Linked DNA regions of Homo sapiens: region 2 is linked to region 1. Evidence: promoter capture Hi-C in human tissues and cell types (Jung and others, 2019). All regions are on one chromosome and are shown on one strand. The core of a region is centred on a gene start or on the middle of the fragment in contact, and the rest is flanking DNA. Distances in the headings are between cores, read along the strand shown.

The links. The method cuts DNA at HindIII sites, captures the fragments that hold promoters and counts their contacts. A contact is called where the count stands out against the background at its distance.
Region 2: a contact is called between the fragment with the promoter of GORASP2 here and the fragment with the promoter of DLX2 in region 1, in 1 of the 25 tissues and cell types used here (lymphoblastoid cells).

The regions. Positions count from the first base shown.
Region 1 is chr2:172,100,702-172,104,677 of GRCh38, forward strand. It overlaps DLX2 (distal-less homeobox 2), which reads right to left and starts at 2,199. Exons shown (of 3, transcript NM_004405.4): 1 at 1,438-2,199; 2 at 761-945; 3 at 1-243. The coding sequence starts at 1,837. It overlaps DLX2-DT (DLX2 divergent transcript), which reads left to right and starts at 2,305. Exons shown (of 5, transcript NR_126376.1): 1 at 2,305-2,567; 2 at 3,237-3,331. RefSeq lists a silencer at 2,001-2,200. The HindIII fragment of the contact is 12,259 bases long and covers 1-3,976 here.
Region 2 is chr2:170,927,578-170,931,553 of GRCh38, forward strand. GORASP2 (golgi reassembly stacking protein 2) reads left to right here and starts at 1,676. Exons shown (of 10, transcript NM_015530.5): 1 at 1,676-1,826. The coding sequence starts at 1,764. RefSeq lists a silencer at 1,455-2,154. The HindIII fragment of the contact is 18,146 bases long and covers 1-3,976 here.

The DNA of each region.
Region 1 (3,976 bases), core at 949-3,448:
AAAAGCCGAGGCCGCGCTGCTCGGGCTGGAGCCCGAGCTGCCGGCGCCGCTGCCGCCACTGCCCGGACCACCGCCGCCCGCCATCCGCTGCGGCACACCAAAGTCCCAGGAGGCCGGCGCTGAGACTGGCGGCGAAGCACAAGGTGGAGAAGCGCTGGCCCCAGGGTGCTGCTCCGAGGGGATCTCACCACTTTTCCACATCTTCTTGAACTTGGACCGGCGGTTCTGGAACCAGATTTTGACCTTTGAGGAAAAAGACCTGAGCATTAGTGGAGGAACCTAGTCTTGGGGCAGTAGGGGTTCGAAGAGGAGAAAAAAGAAGGCAGAGAAAAACCGCTGGCTAGCGGTGGGCAGCGAGCGCCCTGGGGAGATAAGAGGATCACGGGCGGCGGCCTTCGAGGCTCTGCCGGTTCCTGCTCCCTGGGGAGGTAATTGCCAAAAGGCCAGGACTGCTGGTGTACGTGCACTGTGATGATGGTGACAGCGGGAGGGTGAGGAGGGCCAGTTATTTCACCCGCTTAATCAGTAGCGAGAGGTACGGGATTTCTGTCCACCCGGTCCCTTTCCTTCCCTCCCACGGCGGCCCCTTGGGGGTTTCCAGCTTTGGGCCTAGAAGCTTACTTAGGGCCGCTCGAGGCGCAGGCCTGGAAATCCTTAAAAGTACTTAAAATGAACTTTAAAAAGCATTGTCCTAAACCCGCCTGCTTCCCAGCCATCTCAGGCCCGCGCTCTCCTCGCCCCTGCAGGGCGCGAGCCCCACCTGAGTCTGGGTGAGGCCCAGAGAGGCCGCCAGCTCGGCTCGCTCCGGCAAGGCCAAGTATTGAGTCTTTTGGAAACGCCGCTGAAGAGCCGCCAGCTGGAAACTGGAGTAGATGGTGCGGGGTTTCCGGACTTTCTTTGGCTTCCCGTTCACTATCCGAATTTCAGGCTCAAGGTCCTCCTTCTCTGCAACGATAAAGAATCGTAAGAACAGCGCAACCCAGGGGTCCTGGAGTTCCCGCCCTCCTAGAGGGCCCGGCGGGGGGGACTTGGCTTGAGCAAAGAGGTGGGTGCACTGAACTGTGGCGCCACGGGCAGGCGCAACTTCGCAGCGTGCGATCGGAGCCGCCACCGACCCCGGGAGCTGTACCCTCCAGGGAAGGGGGAGACAAGTGCACACCCAAGAGAAAGAAGCTGGTGGCAAGGAGATGCCCTTATGAGGCAGGCAGAGCACGCCCACTTGGCTCTTGAGGCCACCAGGTCCTACCAAAGGAGAGAGGGACGTAACCGGCGACCTGCGGCAGATTGGAGGCTGGGGAGGGTAAAGGGCACAAGCGGGCGGTGAGCAGGCAGCGTGAAAATCCAGAGCTTTCGAAGGCCCCCCGCCCCAAACACGTTTACCCATCCATCCCATTAACTAGACCGACTCGGCACTCTTGACTTCAGCGTTATGCATACCAGGCTCGTTGTTGGCTGGGGACGAACTGGTTCCATAGGGAGCGTAGGAGGTGTAGGCGGCGGTGTAGCCCAGGTCATAGCTGCTCTTGGCGGAGTAAGGGACGTTGTTGAGGCCGCTGGCTTGGTACTGGTAGGAACCCATGTGCGCGTAGGGCGAGCCCCCGCCGCCGCCGCCGCCCGCCGGGTGCTGCTGGTTGGTGTAGTAGCTGCTGTCGGTGGCGGTGGACACCGGAAGGGTGGGCGACTCCTGGGGCTTGTGGAGGCTGCTGCTGCTGCTGCTGTTGCCACCCGGGCCGGCGCCGCCGCCGCTCGGGGGCTGCTGGTGCTGGTGGTACGTGCTGGAGGCGGCGATCTGGGTCGAGTGCATATCAGCCACTAGACTGTCAAAGACTCCAGTCATCCTGGCCCGAGACGGGAAAGAGCAGAGGTGGCGGGCGTGCGGGGGAAGCCAGGCGCCTCCTCTGTCTCTCCCGGTCCCCTCCAGCAGCCAATGTAATTACGGGGGTGGTGGTGGGGAAACAAGAAAGGAGGCAACCGTCTAGGCGCCTCCTCCTCCGGGGGAGGCGATCACCGTGCGCTGCTCGGGACAGCTGCCTCTGGTCGCATCCTCTTTCGGCCTCTGGGCCCGCTCGGCTCCTTGCCCAGCGCGAGCGCGGGCTCTGGCGGGGGGCGGGCAGTGGAGGGGGCAGGGGTGGCTGGGCCGGGTCGGGGCTCTGGGAGGCGGGAGCAGGTGAGCGGCCCCGAGCGGCTTTACGATTGTCTGCCAGGCGGGCTCCTGAAGTGTGGGCATTTAACACTCGTCACGTGAGCGCTGGCGACGTCACCTAGCAACAGCCAATCAGAAGCAAACGGCCGCGGAGCTCCGGGAACGCCCGGCCAAGGGGCGGGCGTCACATGGTGGGCGCTGTGGCTGCGGCTGCGGCTGCAGCGGCCCCAGGTGCAAACAGACTGCCGCCGAATGTGAGCAGCGAGGCGAGGGGTCGAGGTAGCGAGGAGTCAGGGTGGCCCGCAGCAGGAAGACAGAAGGCGTGGAGACAGACTGGCGTTTTGCCTCAGAGGAAGAAGTGGGGTCCCCTCTCCCATTCTGTGAGCAAGTGCCAGTTCCAGTGATTCGTACTTTCATGTCCGAGGTCAGTTTTCAAACACATTAAAGTACATCGGTGCCCAGAGTCCAGCCAGCTCTATCTTCACTTTTCCTCGAAGTGTCTGGCATTTATTCTTGTTAGCCACTCGGCACTTGACATAATCAATTGATTTAATTATCCACAAACCACGTGTAATGCTCGCTTCTTAACCAATCCGCAGGGATATTAGGACAATTAATCATATAATATTGAAACGGGTTTTCCTTGTTGCTTCAAAGAGAAGCTACATAAACTTAAAGGTATTATTGCTAATAGTATATTTGAAACCACTTTCCCTGGTACTTTCCCGACACGCGAGACTCTGAGTAATTATATACGTTTGATAAGTAAATGACACCCTGAAAGCCATCCCGAGGACTTCCTCCTTCGGGTGGAAAGGTTCACCAGTTGTCCTTGAAAATTCGATGCTCTTGCGAAAAAGGAAATAGGATAATAGGTGAGATTATAGATTTATCAAGTAGATACTAGATTTATCACTTCTCTGTAAATTTACAACAAATATAAAAAGTTTTATCTGGTTTGTTGAATTTAATCCTGTTTTACAGTTTTGCATTTTAGGACCCTGTTCTACCCTATCATTGCAATTTTTTTCTTTTCCCTCTGTTTTTTAAAAAATCGGAAATGGTGACTTCCTCTGTCTCTATAACCTTGTAGTTGGAAACCTTGGCCCGACGGTGATGGACTGCACGACTTGCTGGACTCCCAAGTCCGAAGTTCCTGCGGCAGCGCTTGCTTTGTGGCGCCACCTGGTGGGCAGTGTGCGAGGTTGCGGGGGGCGGGGTAGACGGTCTAATCACGCCCAGGCGCCAGCCTCTGAAACCCCCCAAAAGAACAAAATAGTAATTAAAAGCCACAAAATTGTGCTAGTGCGCACCATCTGAAGCACCCTTTCCTAAAGACATAACATGTCGCTGAAAGAACTTGTTAAAACAACTGTCTGATAGAAAACAAGTTGATACCTTCAAAAATATGATCTTTGGTCTTCTTCCCCATAAAAAGCAAGTGTGTAATTAAAACTCCAGCATTCACACAGAGAAATAATGAGATAGGTAATGCGCCTTTAAGTCTACCTGGATTTAGTTCCCAGCTTTTTTTTGGTTAAGGAAGGCCCCTAGATGGAAAGCGCCAGCTTATGAGAAACGTTGGAGGTGGAGCTCACCTCCACCCACCTGCATTGCTTTATGCGGTTCTCTGCCTACTTTGTGGGCCTCAGCTGCAAAACCAACCTCTTGATATTGAAACATGATTGCCTTTTGGTGTTTTTTTGTTTGTTTTTGTTTTTTTGAGACGGAGTCTCACTCTGTCACCCAGGCTGGAGTGCAGTGGCGCCATCTTGGCTCACTGCAACCTCCACCTCCTGGGTTCAAGCGATTCTCCTGCCTCAGCCTCGTAAG
Region 2 (3,976 bases), core at 426-2,925, 1.2 Mb before region 1:
CATTAAATGTATTAATTTGTTGAATTAGCTGCTAGGCATTCTGGTAAATATCAAGAACATAGAGCCAACTCCACTGCAGACCCTGTCCTTGAGGAGCCTAATAACTGGAGATTTCATTTATGGATTTATGGATTTATTAGGCCTCCTAAAAATCTGCTATTCACTTACCGATAGCAAAGAAAATTATTTTTAAATTTTAAATAATATTTTCTTATTACAAAAGCACTTCATGAGCATCATAGAATATGGAACCAGCCAAAACAAAAAATAAAATATCTCTGTCACCACCCAGAGATCACCACTGTAACCCTTGGTTCATATTCTCCTCCCACATCTTCATATGCATACATACATATTAATCTGTATTTTGAGGACATGTTTTTCATTTTGTCTACAGACACATCCCGTCTTGTAACCAGCTTTTAAAAAAGACAATAATTTCCACGTTTCCATGTGAATAACTACTCTTCTAATACTCAGTACATATTCAAATTTCTCCAAATGAACCAAAAATGTCCTTTACGCTTATTTCTCCAAGTTGGCCCCCAACTCAAGCCCTTGCAATGTGTCTCTTGGTTATATTCTTCGGGTTCCTTTTAATCTGGCATAGGCCCTTTCATAGGACTCTGACTCGACAAAGAGAACTGGCCAGCTGTCCTGAAGGAAGGCCCACTTCCTGTATTTGCCTGGTTCCCTGTGGTGTCATTTTACTTGCTCCTCAATTCCCCTTACTTCCTGTAAACATCAAACTCAAGATGCCATAGAGGCAAGTTAACCACCTTGGGCTAGAATACTTCATGGGCGATAGCACGTACTTTACATTGCATCACATAGGAATCCACATAATACCTGGTTGACGCAACATCAGTCCAACTGACCACAAAGCAACTAGGGGTTTCAGAGGGAGTACACGTAAGGGGCAAAAGCAGCAACGGAATACGACAACGGAATAAGCATGAATACGACCTGGCTACCTGAAGGAGGTAGGACGGGGAACCGAGCAGCAGCAGGTGGTGGAATGCCAGGGAAATCCAACCGTGCTTCCCACGCTGGCATCGCTCTGATTATGACCAATCCTCTAATCTTATTCTCACAATTAGGGAGGAAGAAAAAAAAACAAACCCAAACCAAAAAAGAAGTTGGTAGGTGACTCTGTGAGACTACTGTTTTATAAAGGGAGCGTTTCCTTTTATAAAATTTAGCTGAGCAGATGCTAGGCAGCCCACAGGAGGCCACTATTCCCCTCAGCTGTACAGTTTGGGAAAATACCTACACACCCGGAGAACAGAGAGCTTGGTGTGTGTTGAGTTCGCTCCTGTTCATCAGCAGCCCTTTCCCCGCCTCTGGCCACCAGGGGGACCTGCAACCAAGTATGTGTTCTTTCAGGCGAGCGGGAACGCGTCTGCATAAATCTAGTCCAATCCAGGGCCCCGTAGCAAGGCGCCAAAGCTGGGGGAAGCGCATTTCTGTTCTCTCGCGAGCACGACGCGGTGCCTCCCAGTCCTCCTCCGGCCCTCCCTCTCCGCCCTCCCGGCCCGCGAGCGCTCGGGCCCCTTCCAGTGGCTCGCGGCAGGTGGCGCTGTCTGCGGCGTCGCAGCGGCCCGGGCTGCAGCAGAGACGATCTCCCGGCGGGCTGTGCGGCCCGGCTCTCCGGCGGCAGCGAGTGCCACGTCCCAAGTGCTACGCGGAGGATTAGAGCAGGCGGTGCGCTGGGGGCGGGAGCAGCGCGGAGCCCGGCTCGGCCACACCGATCGCCCGCCGCCATGGGCTCCTCGCAAAGCGTCGAGATCCCGGGCGGGGGCACCGAGGGCTACCACGTTCTGCGGGTAAGGGCTCCGACGGCGGCCGGGGAGCTGCGGGCTGGAGGCGGGGCCGGCCGCGGGGAGGCGGAGGCCCCCATGGGCTCCTTCACGGGGCAGCCAGGCCCGATCCCGCGAAGGAGCGGCGGTCGCGGGCGCTGCCTTGGTCGAGGCTGGTTCCGGAGGCCGCTCGCATCCCACCTCCGCGGAGCGCCCTGGGCACGGGGTCCGCGGCTGTAGGAGGACGGGCTGGAGCTGGAGGCGGCTGCCGGCGACTCGGCCAGGGGGCGGCCCTGGGAAGGGGGGACAACCTTGCTCTTTTTCCGCACGGCCTTCTCTCTCCTCCACCCCCCCTCATTTTTAGCTTCCAAAGTTAGGAAGGGCGCGGAGGCAACGTCTCCAAAGTGGTGACTGTGAAGGCAGCCTTTGCGCTTTCCTAGGAGAGGGATCCGGACCCGCAGTCCGGAGGCGGGGCCTGCGGCGGCAGGTGTTAAATCACCTCGGCGCCGGCCGAGTGGCCTGAAAGACCAGCAGGGCAGGAGACGGAAAACCAAATGGCCTGGAAGTAGGTTCGACGGACTTAAACAGACTTGATTTTGACCAGACTTTTCCTTTCCCGTGCCACTCCTGACCCTCCCAAACCTTCTCAAGATTTCCTGGAGTGGGAACTTCCGTTCTGTTCCGATTGCTGAGGGTGTGGTTTAGATTATAAGGTTTAGATCCACAGTGGTAAAGAGGTAGTGCAGAGAAATTTTTTTTAAAAATCGGAGTATATAAAGGAAAACAACCCTAGCTTAACTTCCAGGACGCAGAGAAACATAGTATCTCAAAAGGCGTCAGCTAAGCCCCTACCTATGAACGGCCTGGGCCTGGGTGGTACAAAGCATGTGGTCTTTTCCTCATGGAACCGGGCGACTTTAGAAGTAGCATTGATGGTTGTTTGCTGTGACACCTGTGTGAGTGTTAACATGAACAGTCAACAGAGTGGCCGCAGCGTGTAGCGCCATTTAGGGGTGTAATAGAGTGTCACTCAATATTAGCTCCTCACAGGCAAGAACGTTTTCACTGAAAGTAAGAGAGTGCACTTCCTGGTGCTACCTTCATTTCCTGCCCTGGGTCCCATGTTTTAGGTGAGACACATTCTTAAATTGCCCAGCTGTCTATGTGATAGGGCTGAGACAGATCATCTTTCTGATCTTCCGGATTATCGTGTCTATTGCCTTTCCATTACACTAAAAATCCCTCCTCTGCCATACTCTTAGTAGGAAAGGGTGATTTTTTTTTTCCCCGAAAGGAAAAGGGAGCCTATAAATAAACCGTATTATCTTCCTATCCCCTTCTGCTAACCAAACACCCAAGAGCCACACTGAGAGAGGAAATGGAAGGAGAATTGTCAGTTCCCAAATGTGAGGTGAAAGCTGTGCTTTTCTTTCTATTATCTGGTCTGATTTTGAGTTCTCTACCCTGGGATGTTACCCAGTATTACCAGCTGTTTCTCACAGTGACCGATTGTGGTCATGAATCCTTGGGGATTCATGATATTTTTATAATACATGCACTCAGGGAAACTCAGTAAAACACATTAGTGTTAATAAGCAAAAAAAAAAAAAAAAAGTCGCGTGTTTGAAAGAAAGCCATACACATCAAAAGGATTCCAACTTAGTGACTGCATTCCGACATAAAATGAGTTTGTATTTTCTTTATGTAAGTGCAGTCAAGTGAAACAGCATTCATACATATTCAGTAGTGCAGATGTGTTATTAATCTATACATCTGATTTTTAGAAAAACTAGGGACAACCTTAGTTACCAATCTGCATCTGGAGCATTAATGTTGCACACGATGAAATAATTCTTATTTAGTTAGACTTTTACTAAAGAGAGCTTTAAAATAGTAATGATCTAGTTTAGGAGAATTTTGTGTCTGCCTTCCTAAGACCCTCTGCCCCTGATTCTGTAATTGGTTTTCTTATCTTTGTTTTTAGAGGGAAAAGTGCTGTGTTAAATCTTAACATGTAAAAATGTCTTCCTTTCATTTGTTATTGCCTAAATGGACAGCGATATATTTCATTGTTAGATTACCAAGCTTGTAAACTGGAGTAACTGTGGCAGGAAAATTTTGAATAAAATCACCCATATTCAACAAGTTCTAGAACGATTTAATTAGAAGTTAGTTTT